Regions from separate parts of the Homo sapiens genome. Here region 1 is linked to region 2. Evidence: promoter capture Hi-C in 16 types of primary human blood cells and fetal thymus (Javierre and others, 2016). All regions are on one chromosome and are shown on one strand. The core of a region is centred on a gene start or on the middle of the fragment in contact, and the rest is flanking DNA. Distances in the headings are between cores, read along the strand shown. Region 1 holds the start of MPV17L2 (MPV17 mitochondrial inner membrane protein like 2). Region 2 holds the start of COPE (coat protein complex I subunit epsilon).

What was found. Contacts are between HindIII fragments. The CHiCAGO score rates a contact against its expected background, and 5 or more counts as called.
Region 1: the fragment with the promoter of MPV17L2 here is called in contact with the fragment with the promoter of COPE in region 2 in 1 of 17 cell types (total CD8 T cells); the score reaches 6.7 in total CD8 T cells.

What each region holds. Positions count from the first base shown.
Region 1 is chr19:18,187,214-18,194,853 of GRCh38, reverse strand. It overlaps MPV17L2 (MPV17 mitochondrial inner membrane protein like 2), which reads right to left and starts at 1,636. Exons shown (of 5, transcript NM_032683.3): 1 at 1,386-1,636; 2 at 820-990; 3 at 1-77. The coding sequence starts at 1,572. RefSeq lists an enhancer at 1,492-1,541 and a silencer at 1,932-2,111. The HindIII fragment of the contact is 3,564 bases long and covers 1-2,647 here.
Region 2 is chr19:18,916,108-18,923,956 of GRCh38, reverse strand. It overlaps COPE (coat protein complex I subunit epsilon), which reads left to right and starts at 4,570. Exons shown (of 10, transcript NM_007263.4): 1 at 4,570-4,734. The coding sequence starts at 4,609. It overlaps DDX49 (DEAD-box helicase 49), which reads right to left and starts at 4,242. Exons shown (of 13, transcript NM_019070.5): 1 at 4,101-4,242; 2 at 3,254-3,377; 3 at 2,209-2,294; 4 at 1,993-2,114; 5 at 1,444-1,631; 6 at 1,213-1,353. The coding sequence starts at 4,215. RefSeq lists enhancers at 3,968-4,567, 5,470-6,360 and a silencer at 4,648-4,837. The HindIII fragment of the contact is 20,861 bases long and covers 1-7,849 here.

The DNA.
Region 1 (7,640 bases), core at 387-2,886, 730 kb after region 2:
CTTGTAGAATTCCCAGAACTTCTCCCGCAGCTCCTGGCAGCTCTCACCCACTGTCTGACCCTCCAGGCAGCCAAGGCCTGGGAAGCAAACCAAGAAATGAGAGTGTTAGAGGCCAGGAAGTACTGTTGAGACGACAAGATGGGCTGACGATGGAGGGGGCGGGGTTGGGCCCCTGAGAGCCCACGCCGCCCACCCCGGGCAGAGGGACAGGGACTTTCAGATGGGATGGACAGAGAATTAGGGTAGCTGGTGTAGAGACAAAACAGAGCAAGTCAGTCCCAGTGAGAGAAAGAGAGGTTATAAACATATAAACACGTGCCCCAATGGAGACACCCTGAAGTTGAGGGAGTTGTGTTACTTTTCCATCACAGACCAGGAAGCCGGGCTGGGAGGTGGAGAATGAGAGACTCCTCTATTAATACCGCTGTCTTTACCGAGCCTAGGGCTGGCACGGTTGCACCCCATTAAGTCTAGCCTCAATTTCTCTTCCTTCAGGCCTCAGAGCCTTTGCATTAGCTGTTCCCTCTGCCCGCTGGTTCCCTCTTCATGTCTCAACTGAGTGTGGTCCCCTTCTTTGGGAAATGCTCTCAACCTCCCGCCCAGGGCAGCCCCAACAGATACAGTCCTCGTCCCTCCTACACTCGCCAGCGTTCACATCGGCCGAGTCCGTCCTGTCCCCGCTGTGACCTGGCTCCTAGTCCAGGGCGACCCAAACAGGGGGCAAATTGGAAATGCACCTCTGCATCCTTCTTAACACAAAGCTGGCTCCACCCCTCCCGACCTATGAGAGGCAAAGCCTAGGCTTAGGAGGCTCCTTACCCAAGAAGTACCAGACGCCCAGCAATGGAGAGGCTACCAGCTGATCCACGAGGACCTTCTTGAGGACATTTGGGAAGCCTCGGAGGCCAGACGCAGGGAATAGGCGGTCCAGCGACAAGTACCAGTAGTGCAGGAAGGGACCCATGCTGCAGCCCACCGCAAACATGCTCGCTATAAGAGTGTAAGTCAGGGGGCTGGGTCGGGCCGGCAAGTTCCTCAGTCCATTCCCTCTCTCCCTCCCTGGCTAAGGCCTGGGTAAGCCCAATGCCATCCCGGAGCCTCAGCCTCACCGGGAAAACCGGAAGAGCCCACCCGTGCATTCTTCCACTACAAGCCCCACCAGGAGGCGCGGCTCCAGAGGCTCCTGGGTAGTGGGCAGAGACCTCCGGGGGTTGGGAGGTGATGGAGACCCAGAGCTGCGGGGAGACAGACACCCGGGGAGAGGCGCGGTCAGGGCAAGGGTCCTGCGGGGGACTGAGGCCACGGGTCAGGGGTCACGGCCCGCAGTCGGGTGTCGGGATCAAAGGTCGCCCGGGGTGAAGGACTAAGCAGCGTGGCGTCCTCACCGGAGCGCCGTGGGTCGAAAACCTGGCCGGGCCGGGCGCGGATCTCCCAGGACTGGCGCACGCCATCACCGGCCGCCATGAGCGCGCCGCAGCCCAGCGTGTTAGTGACGAGCAGCGCGCGGCCCTGGAATAGAAGCTGCCCCGCGGATAACAGGCGGCGTAGCCGGCGCCAGCCACCCCGCGCCATCGCCCTCAGGAACCAAGGAACCGGCGCGCCGCTCTGCTTTCGCCGCGCCGACCAGTCGCGAGTCACTGTCGATCCCAAATTGCCCGCCCCTCCGGCTCCCCGGCCAATCGCATAAGGATCTTCAGTCCGCAGGTCCGCCCCGAGCCGCGACGCGTTCACCAATCGCAGGCAGCCTCGGGGAGCCACATTGCCCGGCCCGAAGAGTATTGACCAATAAAAGGCAGGCGTTCTATCCCAAGGTCGAGCCCCCAACGACCTCCCGAGCTTCACGGACCAATCGGAAAAAAGAATTGCGTTACGTCCCGCATGCCGATTGGTAACGTTGCACTCTTGTTTCCCCGCCCCTTTCTGTGCCAGCCTATGGGAAACCGTCGCAGCCCCGTCCTACCGACACGCCCAGGACGGCACTGGCCAGTCGCAGACCGGCGTCACGCTGGCAAATCAGTGACCGTCGTCCCGCCTCCCGCGTTAGGGTTGGTCAATCTTAGGCAGTTACAACGCCTTCTGGCCTGGTTGCCCTACGTATTTCCAGATTCTCCTGGACTTAACCAGAAGGGATGTGATCTGTGGCCAGAAACAATTATATCCTAATTATACCGTTCCCGTAGGGAACAATTATTTTTTTTCTTTTTTTGAAATGGAGTCTCGCTCTGTCACCCAGGCTGGAGTGCGGTGGCGCGATCTCGGCTCACCGCAACCTCTCCCTCCCGGGTTCAAGCGATTCTCGTGTCGCAGCCTCCCAAACAGCTGGGATTACAGGCACGGGCCACCACGCCCAACTAATTTTGTATTTTTGGTCTAGACAGGGGTTTTGCCATGTTAGCCAGGCTGGTCTCGAACTCCTGACCTCAAGAGATCCACCCGCCTTGGCCTCCCAAGGTGCTGGGATGATGATAGGCGTGAACCACCGTAACTGGCTTAAAAAATGATTTTCAATGGAAATCCCTATGCATTCTCTACTAGAGTCGCAAACTACTGCCTGTGGGCTGTTAACTGTTGAAGGTGTGCAGGTTCTTGGCATCTTGAACAAAGAATTGGACAAAGTGCACAAACAAAGCAAGGAAAGAATGAAGCTTAACAAAAGCAGAGATTTATTGAAAACGAAAGTACACTCCGCAGGGTGGGAGCCAGTGGAGCATACGGACTCAAGAGACCTGTTTAAGAATTTTCTGGGGTTTAAATGCCCTCTAGAGGTTTTCACTGGTTACTTAATGTACGTCCTATGTAAATGAAGAGGATGAAGTAAAGTTACAAAGTCATTTACTGGATGTATGCCCTCTTTAAATGGAGAAGATATTTCCTGTCATAGCTGAATTGTTTCCATTTGATTTGGCCTTATGTTCCCTGCCTCCAGACCTATTCTCCTGCCTCAGGGCCAAATCCTGTCCCTGCCTGTTTTGTGCTGCTCATGATGAGCTAAAGGTGTTTCTTACATTTTTTAAATGGTCAGTCAAGAAGGTGGGGATTGGCCAGGCGCAGTGGCTCACGCCTGTAATCCCAAACAGTTTGGGAGGCGGAGGCAGCTGGATCACCTGAGGTCAGGAATTCAAAACCAGCCTGGCCAACATGGTAAAACCCCATCTCTATTAAAAATACAGAAATTAGCCAGGGGCGTGGTGGTGGGCGCCTGTAATCCCAGCCACTCGGGAGGCTGAGGCAGGGTAATCTCTTGAACCCGAGAGGTGGAGGTTGCAGTGAACCGAGATAGCTCCAGTCTGGGCCACAGAGCGAGACTGTCTCAAAAAAAAAAAAAAAAAAAAAAAAAAAAGGCTGTGCCTAGGGCCGTGGTCACTCACGTTTGGCTCAGAATTAACCTCTTTAAATATTTTACGGAGTTTCTTTTTTTTTTTTGAGAGAGTCTCGCTCTGTGGCCCAGGCTAGAGTGCAGTGGCGCGATCTTGGCTCACTGCAAGCTCCACCTCCCGGGTTCACGCCATTTTCCCGCCTCAGCCTGGCGAGTAGCTGGGACTACAGGTTCCCGCCACCAAACCCGGCTAATTTTTTATATTTTTAGTAGAGACAGGGTTTCACCGTGTTAGCCAGGATGGTCTCGATCTCCTGACCTCATGATCCGCCCGCCTCGGCCTCCCAAAGTGCTGGGATTACAGGCGTGAGCCACCGCGCCCGGCCCATATTTTACAGAGTTTCACTCTTTTTGTCAACAAATGGCATGATTGTGTTTCAATAAAGTTTTACTTATGGACACAAATTTGCATTTCATATAATTTTCAGGTCATAGAATAAGCCAAACGTCATTGAAACACAATCATGCCATTTGTTGGCCTGTAAAAAGTAAAACTGAAATATGGCTTTTTTTTTTTTTTGAGACGGAGTCTTACTCTGTTGCCCAGGCTGGAGTGCAGTGGCACAATATCAGCTCACAGCAACATTTGCCTTCCAGGTTCAAGCGATTCTCCTGCCTCAGCCTCATGAGTAGCTGGGATTACAGGCACCCGCCGCCATGCCTAGCTATTTTTTGTAGTTTTGTAGAGACGGGGTTTCACCATGTTACTCAGGCTGGTCTTGAACCCCTGATCTCAAATCCACCTGCCTCGGCCTCCCAAAGTGCTGGGATTACAAGAGTGAGCCACCATGCCCAGCCTACAATATGGGTTTTTACAACAAAAATTTGCCCAGTCAGAGGACACCCTTCATGGTTTTCTGATTTTTTTTTTGAGATAGAGCCTTCTTCCTTCCTTCCCCCAATTTAAAACTTTTATTTAAAGAAAGGTTTTGTTTTTTTTTCCTCTTTAGTAGAGACAGGGTCTCACTATGTTGCCCAGGCTAGCCTTGAACTGTACTGAAGCAATCCGCCCACTTTTGCATCCAAAAGTGCTGGAATTACAGGCATGAGTTACTGAGAATAGATAAAATGACATGTCCCCCTGGGCAATAGGAGAACAGTGAGTTTCGTAAAGTGGGACAAATAAACAGAACAATACAAAAAAAACCTGATCAATGCCGGGCGAGGTGGCTCAGGCCTGTAATCCCAGTACTTAGGGAGGCCAAGGCGTCCGAATCATGAGGCCAAGTGATTGAGACCAATCTGGTCAACACGGTGAAACACCGTTTCTACTAAAAATACAAAAATGAGCTGGGCACGGTGGCACACGCCTGTAGTCCCAGCTACTCAAGAGGCTGAGGCAGGAGAATCGCTTGAACCCGGGAGGTGGAGGTTGCAGTGAGCCGAGATCTCACCACTGCACTCCGGCCTGGCAACAGGGCGAGACTCCGTCTCAAAAAACAAACAAACAAACAAACAAACAAACAAACAAACCACTGGGTGTGGTGGCCCCCACCTGTGATTCCAGCTACTCCGGAGGGTGAGGCAGGGGAGTCGCTTGAACCCTGGAGGCAGAGGCTGCAGTGAGCCGAGATTGCGCCACCGCACTCCAGCCTGGGTGACAGAGCCAGACTGTCTCAAAAAAAAAAAAAAAGAAAAAGAAAGTGGGAGTTGAACAATGAGAACACATGGACACAGGGAGGGGAACATCACATTCCGGGACCTGTCAGAGGGTGGGATAGGGGAGGGATAGCATTAGGAGAAATAACTTCTTTTTTTTTTTTTTTTTTTTGAGACGGAGTCTCGCTCTGTCATCCAGGCTGGAGTGCAGTGGCGCGATCTCGGCTGGCTGCAAGCTCCGCCTCCCGGGTTCACGCCATTCTCCTGCCTCAGCCTCTCCGAGTAACTGGGACTACAGGCGCCCGCCACCACGCCCGTCTAATTTTTTGTATTTTTAGTAGAGACGGGGTTTCACCTTGGTCTCGATCTCCTGACCTCGTGATCAGCCCGCCTCGGCCTCCCAAAGTGCTGGGATTACAAGCGTGAGCCACCGCACCCGGCCAGCATTAGGAGAAATACCTAATGTAGATGACCGGTTGATGGGTGCAGCAAACCACCATGGCACGTGTATACATACCTATGTAACAAACCTGCACCTTCTGCACGTTCTGCACATGGATCCCAGAACTTAAAGTATAATAATAGTAAAAAAGAATTCAATGTAGATGTATGGATTTGGTTCTGGGTTCTCCATTCTGTTCCATTTATGTATGTGTCTATTTTTGTGCTGGTACTATGCTGTTTTTGTTACTGTAGATCTATAGTATAATTGAATGTTGGGTAATGGGATTCCTCCAGTTTTGTTCTGTTTGCTCAGGATAGTTTTGGCTATTCAAGGTCTTTTGTGATTTCATATAAATTTAGGACTGTTTTTTAGAACTGTTCTTTCTGTTTTGTGTGAAGAATGTCATTGGTATTGTATTTTGATGGAAATTGCATTGAATCTGTAGGTTGCTTTGTGTAGTATGGACATTTTGACAATATGGATTTTTCCAATCCATAACTACAGAATATCTTAAAAAATAATAATAATAATAAGGCCGGTGCGGTGGCTCACGCCTGTAATCCCAGCACTTTGGGAGGCCGAGGTGGGCGGATCATGAGGTCAGGAGATCGAGACCACAGTGAAACCCCGTCTCTACTAAAAATACAAAAAATTAGACGGGTGTGGTGGCGGGCGCCCGTAGTCCCAGTTACTCAGAGAGGCTGAGGCAGGAGAATGGCGTGAACCCGGGGAGGTGGAGGTTGCAGTGAGCCAAGATCGTGCCACTTGCACTCCAGCCTGGCGACAGAGCTAGACTCTATCTCAAAAAAAAAAAAAAAAAAAAAGAAAGAAAGAAAGAAAGAAAAAGAAAAACCTGATTAACTTCAGGTTACTTTTTTTGGTAAGTGTTAAAGCAGAGGGGACTTCCTTATCGGGCTAATTCAGGTAGACTAAAATCTTTTTTTTTTGAGACAGAGTCTCGCTCTGTCGCCCAGGCTGGAGTGCAGTGGCGCGATCTCGGCTCGCTGCAAGCTCCGCCTCCCGGGCTCACGCCATTCTCCTGCCTCAGCCTCCCCAGTAGCTGGGACCACAGGCACCAGCCACCACGCCTGGCTAATTTTTTGTATTTTTAGTAGAGAGGGGGTTTCACCATGTTAGCCAGGATGGTCTCGATCTCCTGACCTTGTGATCCGCCCACCTCGGCCTCCCAAAGTGCTGGGATTACAGGCATGAGCCACCGTGCCCGGCCCAGGTAGACTAAAATCTATTTTTAGGAAAGACAGCTGGGCACAGTGGACCATGCCTATAATACCAGCACCTTGGGAGGCTGAGGCAGGAGGATCGCTTGAGGCCAGGAGTTCAAGACCAGCCTGGGCAACTTGGCCAGAACCTCATCTCTACAAAACAAATTTAAAAAAAAAAAAAATAAGAAACTGATCTGTTTGGGATATGTCTGCTTCCTCAAAGTTTCAGTTTGATTATGTGGCATTTAGCACGAGTGACTCCATTCTGGTTTCATCTGGTCTGTTGGTGCCTAGTGCAGGAGCTCAGTCCAAAACAGTGGTCTCCCATAGTTTTGTTTGACATTGAGCTGACCATTTGGTAATCTACAAATGGATTACTGGTTGCTGAGAGACAATGGTGGATAAATTAAGAATTTATTGGCCAGGCACGGTGGCTCATGCCTGTAATCCGAGCACTTTGGGAGGCTGGGGCGGGTGGATCACTTGAGGTCAGGAGTTCAAGGCCAGTCAGGCCAACATGGCAAAACCCCATCTCTACTAAAAATACAAAAATTAGCTAGGTGTGGTGGTGCATGTCTGTAATCTGAGCTACTTGGAGGCTGAGGCAGGAGAATCGCTTGAACCTGGGAGGCGGAGTTTGCAGTGAGCTGAGATCATGCCATTGCACTCCAGCCTGGGCGACAGAGCGAGATTTTGTCTCAAAAAAAAAAAAAAAAATTGTTGCTTGGCCGGGCTCGGTGGCTTATGCCTGTAATCCTACCATTTGGGACCTGGATGCAGGAGGATCGCTTGAGGTCAGGAGTTGGAGTTGCCCAGATGCCTGGGCAACATGGTAAGACCAGGTAACATGGTAAGACCGGATAACAAAATTATCCGGGTACGGTAGTGCACACCTGTAGTCCCAGCTACTTGAGAGGCTGACGTGGGAGGATCGCTTGAGTCCCAGAGGCTGAGTCTTCAGCTGGCTGAGATGGTGACACTACACTCTGGCCTGGAT
Region 2 (7,849 bases), core at 3,321-5,820:
GTATGACTGTAGCCTCAGCTACTCAGGAGGCTGAGGCAGGAGAATTGTTTGAACCCAGGAGACAGAGGTTGCAGTGAGCCGAGATTGCGCCATTGCACTCCAGCCTGGGGGACAGCGTGAGACTCTCAAAAAAAAAAAAAAAAAAAAGAGGCAGGATGAGGGTTGACAGACGGCTTGCCTGCCTGATGTCCTCTCTGCTGATCCCTCCCTGGAGCTGGAACTGACAAGAGTTGGCCCTGGGACTGCAGGGCTGGAAGGCTGGAAACTGACTTGCTAGGGGTGGTCACTGTTACCAAGAAGGCCAAGAAGGAGCCAGCAGAGGAAAACAGAGGAGAAAGAGGGGCACAGGGAGAAAGGATGGGGACCATCACATAAGCTGCTGGATCCTGCCACGCCTGACAGCCACCCTGCAGCCAAACTTTTCTCTCTTTTTCCCTGAGACAGTCTCACTTTGTCCCCCAGGATGGAGTGCAGTGGCGTGATCTCGGCTCACTGTAACCTCCACCTACCGGGTTCAAGTGATTCTCCCGCCTCACCTTCCCCAGTAGCTGGGACTACAGGTGCTCGCCACCATGCCTGGCTAATTTTTGTATTTTTAGTCGAGATGAAGTTTCACCACGTTGGGCAGGCTGGTCTCGAACTCCTGACCTCAGGTGATCCGCCTACCTCGGCCTCCCAAAGTGCTGGGATTACAGGTGTGAGTCACTGCACCCAGTCCCAACTTTTCTCTTCTGGGAGGTAACGCATTTAAAGCGCCTTGATTTCTGCCCTTCTATCCTGGCTCATGCTGGAAGAGCCTCCAGCTTCTCAATGACCTTCCCAAACAATTCAATGAAGATATGAACTGCCCTCCCCAGGGGTCTCTGTCTGTGCAGACGCACACCAGGCCTGTTAGTTGTCACAACTTCCTCTGAGATGGGACTAAAGGCCCAGGAAAGCTCAGTGACACCCCCAGAACACAGCAAATGGGCTGCTCAAACAGCTGCTTGCAGGGGTTTCCTGGCCCTTCCATCAACGGCTGGGCTGAGGAACCCCAAAGGCCGGCTGCACCTTCAGATTGAGGGACCTTGGCTCCTTGAGGGAAGCCCCCATGACCTCCAGGCTGAGCAGAGGCTGGGGAGTGCTGAGACTGGCTGTGTGTCCCAGACCAAAGACGTCGGGCCACCTCCTCCTTTGAAGGGCGGTGGGAGGGGAGAGGCGGGCCCCGCTCACTTGCACGTGTTGGTGAAGATGATAATGGACCAGTCCTCGTGCTCATCCTGGAAGCGCTGGATCAGGTGGACCAGGTAGGCGTCCTTGACCTTCTCAGGCACCAGCAGGTAGCGCTGGTCCAGCTGCTCCACGGTGCTCACCCTGGGGATGGACAGATAGACCGCCACGCCTCAGTGTCCCTGTCTGTAGGATGGGGCTGCCCTCCCCACGCTGTCTGGGCTGTGGACTCACGGGGCCTGTGCTTCCCAGAAGAAGGGCTGGTTGGTGGCCAGACCCTGCAGCTCCCGGAGTGTGTCGGTCAGCGTGGCGCTGAACAGCAGTGTCTGCCTGCGGGCCGGCACAGCCGCCAGGATGGCCTCCAGGTCCACGGTGAAGTCAGTGCAGCCCTGTTCCAGCAGCCGGTCTGCCTCATCCATCACCTGCCGTGCCAATGGGGGCAGGGGTGAGGGTGCCGTCCATGGCCCCGGGTCTTGGCCACCCCTGAAGCAGGCCTCTTTGAGAGGCATGGACATGGACCCTAGGCCCTGGAGTACCCTCCTTCCAAGGGAGGCCTGCCCCTCACCCAAGTCTCAGCAAGGCCCTACCCCCGAATAACATTGCTAGGACTGGGCCCCCTCTTGTTGGTCCTTGAACGGTCCTTGTCACTGTTCCTAGCGTTTTACTGGACAGTCTAACGGACATACGTTTCCTAAATGGATGAGATGGTGCCCCAGGCTCTGACATTGGGCCTGGAGGCTCCGAGCCCAGCTCCTGAGGTCTGCAGGGGCGGGGCGAACTCACCAGGAAGCGGATCTTCTTTATACTAAAAGTGTTGGAGCTGCGCAGGTGATCTGCCAGGCGCCCCGGCGTGGCGATGACCACGTGTGGTTTCCGAGAGAGCTCCAGCGCCTGGGCCACCATGTCTGGGGGACAGAGCATGAGAGGCAGGGCTGGGCAGGTGGTCCAAAGCTGCTAGGGTCCCATGCTGGGGCTTCCCCCGCCTCCCAGCTCCCGTACCCATGCCACCGACGATGATGCAGTCTTTCAGCCCTAGAGGCTTCCCCAGGACCCGGAACTGCTCTGCGATCTGGTAGGCCAGCTCCCTGTGGGTGTGAAGGGGCCAGGCTGGGTCAGGTAGTGGTTCTGGACCTGCCCCCCATTCCCCTCTCCATCCCCAGGGTTCCTCCCTGAGCCCCCAGGCTCCTGACTTGCCCAGTCCTGTTCACAAAGGCTCTGATGCTGAGCCTTGGAGGCCATTGTGGCCCCTGCCCCCTCGCCAGGCTCAGCCTGGAACATCCCTCCTTCACCAGCCCGACCCAAGCTGACCTCAGCATCTCTTCCTATCCCAAACCTGTGCCTTCCCCCAGTTCGCCTTTCAGCAATGGCCTCACCACCAGCCAGTTGCCCCAGCCAGAGGGTCTCAAGCATCAGCCTCCTTTCTGCCCCCAACCAACTCTGTCCTGGCCTCTCCCTGGCTCATGACCTTTCCTGCTCACACACCCCCAGAATCAATTCTAACCCTCCGCCTGGCATTCAAGGCCTTTCTCAAACTGGCTCCAATATGCCCAGGTCCCAGTACCCTTTCTGCTGCCTGCCTCTTTCTTTCTTTCTTTTTTTTTTTTTTGAGACAGAGTTTTGCTCTTGTTGCCCAGGCTGGAGTGCAATGGCACGATCTTGGCTCACCGCAACCTCCGCCTCCTGGGTTCAAGCGATTCTCCTGCCTCGGCCTCCCGAGTAGCTGGGATTACGGCATGCGCTACCATGCCCAGCTAATTTTTTGTATTTTTAGTAGAGACGGGGTTTCTCCATGTTGGTCAGGCTGGTCTCAAACTCCTGGCCTCAAGTGATCCGCTCACCTGGAGCTCCCAAAGTGCTGGGATTACAGGTGTGAGCCACTGCACCGGGGCCATCTTGTTTAATTCTGCAGGACCCCTAAGAAGCGGGTAGCAAGATTTTCATGCTCATCTCACACGTGGGAAAAGGGCGCTCAGAGAGGGAAAGGTGCTTGCCCAAGAGAGCACAGCTGGTTAACCCATACCCAGGAGGCCTGCTGGGGGCTTACCTGGTGGGTGTCAGGACGAGGCAGAAGATGCCATAGGGATCCTCAGACAGCTTCTGCAAGATGGGAAGGACAAACGCTGCTGTCTTCCCACTGCCTGTCTTAGCACAGCCCAAGCAGTCTCGACCTGGGTTGGGGACAAAGCAGCATCAACACCCTCCATGTGTGGACAGCTGGGTTTCAGAGACCTTGCCCAGGACACACTGCCAGTGAGTGGCAGGCTGGACTGGAACCCATATCCATTTGACCCGAGATGCCCACAGCTTCCTACCACCTCGTTCTAACTCCGTCCAGGAGCACGTGAATTTGGGGAATCCAGAATTCCCTTCCCTCATATGCATCTTGTGCTCCCTGTTGACCCCTTCATTTGTTTATTTAATCCCTGACTTATCACATCTTAGGCTTCCTGTGGGCCTCTCTTTAATGGCGAAACTGGGTTGGGCTAGAGGAGCAGAGAGAAGACCTTCTCCTAGAGGAGCAATCACAGGACCAAGGAGTCCTGGATCTACCAGCAATTTTGACAGCCTCAACTTCTATTTGTAAAATAAAGATAGCAGTACCAGGTCTGCAGGATTTTGCGATACTATCGGACTAGTCATCCATCAAACCCTCCCTGTGCTGAGACTATGAAAATTTCAGAGATTACATCACTTGCGTACGAACACAAAGCGAGTCAGTCATGCAACCTAAATGCCAACACTGTCCAGTCGTCCTCCGGAACCCCGGATCTCCTGTAACGCCCGAGGTTGCCCCTCGCCTCGTGGGACCGGAATAAGCAAAGGTTGCGAGAAGGGAAAGGAGTCGAGAGGAGCGGAGAGGCCTCTTGGGGAAGGCCCTGGGCCATACTCACCCTCCAGGATGGCGGGGATGCAGCCGAGCTGCACGGGCGTGGGCTGCTTCAAACCCAGCTGCCGACATTGTTCCACGAGCCACGATGACAGCCCGAGCTCCGCGAAGCCTGCCATCCTTGTGGCCGCTTGTAGGGGCCCCTTGTAGGGGCCCGTGTGATCCGCGCTTCCGGCGCGCGCCGACGACGTCACGAGAAAAATCTTCCTGTTTATTGGATCTGCCTCCTGCGTGGTCCCACCCTCTCCAGCTCCCTCAGCCTATTCCCAGCCTCGACCGCATCCTTATCATGTTTCCCCGGATCCCATTGGCTTGCAGAAACACACTACAATTCCCGAGATGCTCTCCGTGACGCACTTACGCCTTCCGCCCCCTTGCATATTATTGTGGAGCTTCCCATTGGCTTACTTCGCCGCCGCTCGGAAAAAGTAAACTACATTTCCTAGCGTGCCCGTGTCTTGCTTCCGGCTGACGTGTCTTTCAGGAAGAGGAGCTGGTGAGAAGACAGCGAAATGGCGCCTCCGGCCCCCGGCCCGGCCTCCGGCGGCTCCGGGGAGGTAGACGAGCTGTTCGACGTAAAGAACGCCTTCTACATCGGCAGCTACCAGCAGTGCATAAACGAGGCGCAGCGGGTGAAGGTGCGGCCGCGCAGGGGCGCGGGGACGCTGGGGGCGGAGGCGGAGGACGCTTTCTGGTGGCCGCGAGCCGCGTTCTGCGTCTAAAAACTTTCTCTTTTCTTCTCGCGTTTTTTGGGCCACCTCTTCCACAGTTCAGTGAGGAGTAGTCACTGTCCCGTGACAGAACCCAGAGCAGTAACAGTTTACGGTACTGCTCACTCGTACAGCGTTCTCTCTGCGCCCTTGAAAGTGTTTTGAGTAAGGGAGGTGTTTATGCCACTGTAGTGACAATAAGCCTATTTTGTTCAGCCATACCTTCAGTTCCCGTGAGATGGAGACTGTTGCTTATCCTCATTTTACGGATGAGAACCCTAAAGTTCAGAGAAGGACGTTTCCCTGCCCAACCAGCCTGGTTATTTCTCCCAGAGCTTACCCATTCATTCATTCATTCTTCATTGAGCACTTTTTTGGACGGGCACTGTATTCCGCTGGACTCAGAATGATAAACACAGTTTCCCAGCGCAGTGGCTCAAACGCCTGTAATTCTGGCGCTTTGGGAGGCCGAGGCGGGCAGATCGCATGCGCCCAGGAGTTCGAGACCAGCTTGGGCAACGTGGAGAAACCATGAGTCTACCAAAAATTAGCCGGGCGTGGTGGCGGGCACTTGTAATCTCAGCTACCGGGAGGCTGAGACAGGAGAATCGCTTCAACCCGGAGGCCGAGGTTGCAGTGAACCGAGATCGCGCCACTGCACTCCAGCCTGGGTGACAAAGTTGTAAGAATTAAAGAGGAAAGAAACACGAAAGGTGGCTTGCCAGTCAAGACAGGTTTATTTTAGAGAAAACAAACCTGAGAGGCGCCTTCTGGCGGAGTTGGGTCAGAGTAACACTCTTTTACAGACTAAGAGTTTTTAAGGATTCAGGGTCGGAGAGTTTATCAGAGGCTTGAACTGCTTCTGTGTCTCTTCGTTGTGCTTATCTGGGAGGGAGAGTTGTGTGTCTGTTCCCATACATCTTTCTTTTTTCTTTTCTTTTCTTTTCTTTTTTTTTTTTTTTTGAGATGGAGACTCGCGCTGTTGCCAGGCTGGAGTGCAGTGGCGTGATCTCGGCTCACTGCAACCTCCGCCCCCAGGTTCAAGCAATTCTCCTTTCTCAGCCTCTCGAGTAGCTGGGATTACAGGCGCGCGCCACCATGGCCCGGCTAATTTTTGTATTTTTAGTAGAGACGGGGTTTCACCATGTTGGCCAGGATGGTCTCCATCTCTTGACCTTGTGATCTGCCCGCCTTGGCCTACCAAAGTGTTGGGATTACAGGTGTGAGCCACCGTGCCCAGCCTCCCATACATCTTTCTGCAGCTGCAGGCATACCCCCCTACTCTGCTTTTAGCTTGCCTATTTTAGTGCACCTGAAGGGAAAGGAATGTGCTTATTAAGGCCCACTGTTTTACTGGGGCCCGTTGTATGAAGGTGAAGTTTGGCAGTTACCCAAGAAATTTTCTTCCCACTCTCTCTCTGTCCGAGCTGTCTTTCTGTGTTTTACTGTCTCCTCTTTCTGGCTGCTTGTAGTTAGAAGTGATTTCCTGGCCGGGCGCGGTGGTTCACACCTGTAATTCCAGCACTTTGGGAGGCGGGCGGATCACCTGAGGTCAGGAGTTCGAGACCAGCCTGACCAACTTGGTGAAACCCCGTCTCTACTAAAAAATACAAAAATTAGCCGGGCATGGTGGCAGGCACCTTAATCCCAGCTACTTGGGAGGCAGAGGCAGGAGAATCGTTTGAACCCAGGAGGTGGAGGTTGCAGTGAGCCAAGATCCAGCCATTGCATTCAAGCCTGGGGAACAAGAGCGAGACTTCTCTATTAAAAAAAAAGAAAAAAGAAATTTCCTTAAAATTCATGAGGCTAGAAAGGGGGCTGGAACTTAAAGTGGCAGTGTTTGTCTGAGATGTTGGTGCTCTTACTATGTCAAAAGTGAGACCCTATCTCAAAAAAAAAAAAAAAAAAAGAAAAAAAGAATGTTTCTAGTAGGCTTTCTTGTCTTCACCAGAACCCGCCACTGGAAAAAGAAAAAAAAAAAGGCAGAGGGAGATTTGAGACACAGAGATGATGGAAGCAGAGATGGGAGTAATGTGGCTACAAACTGAGGAATGTAACAGTCACCAAAAGCTGGGAGAGGCAGGGAAGTATCCTCCCCTAGAGCCTTTGGAAGGAGTGTGGCCCTGCTGACACCTTGATTTGGGACTTCTGGCCTCCAGGACTGTGACTGTGAAGGAATACTTTTTTTTTTTTTTTTTTTTTTTTTGAGACAGGATCTCACTCTGTGTCACCCAGGCTGGAGTGCAGTGGCATCCTCCTCCTCCTGGGTTCAAGCGATTGTCCTGCCTCAGCCTCCCAAGTGGCTAGGATTACAGGTGCCCACCACCACACCCAGCTAATTTTTTTTTTGTTTTTTTGTTTTTGAGATGGAGTCTTGCCCTGTTGCCCAGGCTGGAGTGCAGTGGCACGATCTCAGCTCACCACAACCTCTGCCTCCCGGGTTCAAGCAGTTCTCCTGCCTCAGCCTCCCTAGTAGCTGGGACTACAGGCGTGTGCCACCACACCCAGCTAATTTTTGTATTTTTCCTAGTGATGGGGTTTCACTGTGTTGGCCAGGCTCGTCTGTAACTCCTGACCTCATGATCCGCCTGCCTCAGCCTCCCAAAGTGCTGGGATTATAGGCATGAGTTACCGTTCCTGGCCTAATTTTTGTATTTTTAGTAGAGACAGGGTTTTATCATGTTGGTCAGGCTGATCTCGAACTCTTGACCTCAAGTGATCTGCCCGCCTCAGCCTCCCACAGTGCTGGGATTACAGGTGTGAGCCACCACGCCTGGCCAGGAATACTTTTTTTTTTTGAGACAGAGTCTAACTCTGTCACCCAGGCTGGAGTGCAGTGGCACAATCTCAGCTCACTGCATCCTCCGCCTCCTGGGTTCACACCATTCTCCTGCCTCAGCCTTCAGAGTAGCTGGGATTACAGGTGCCTGCCACCACGCCCAGCTAATTTTTGTTTTTTTGTTTTTGAGATGGAGTCTTGCTCTGTTGCCCAGGCTGGAGTGTAGTGGCATGATCTCAGCTCACCACAACCTCTGCCTCCTGG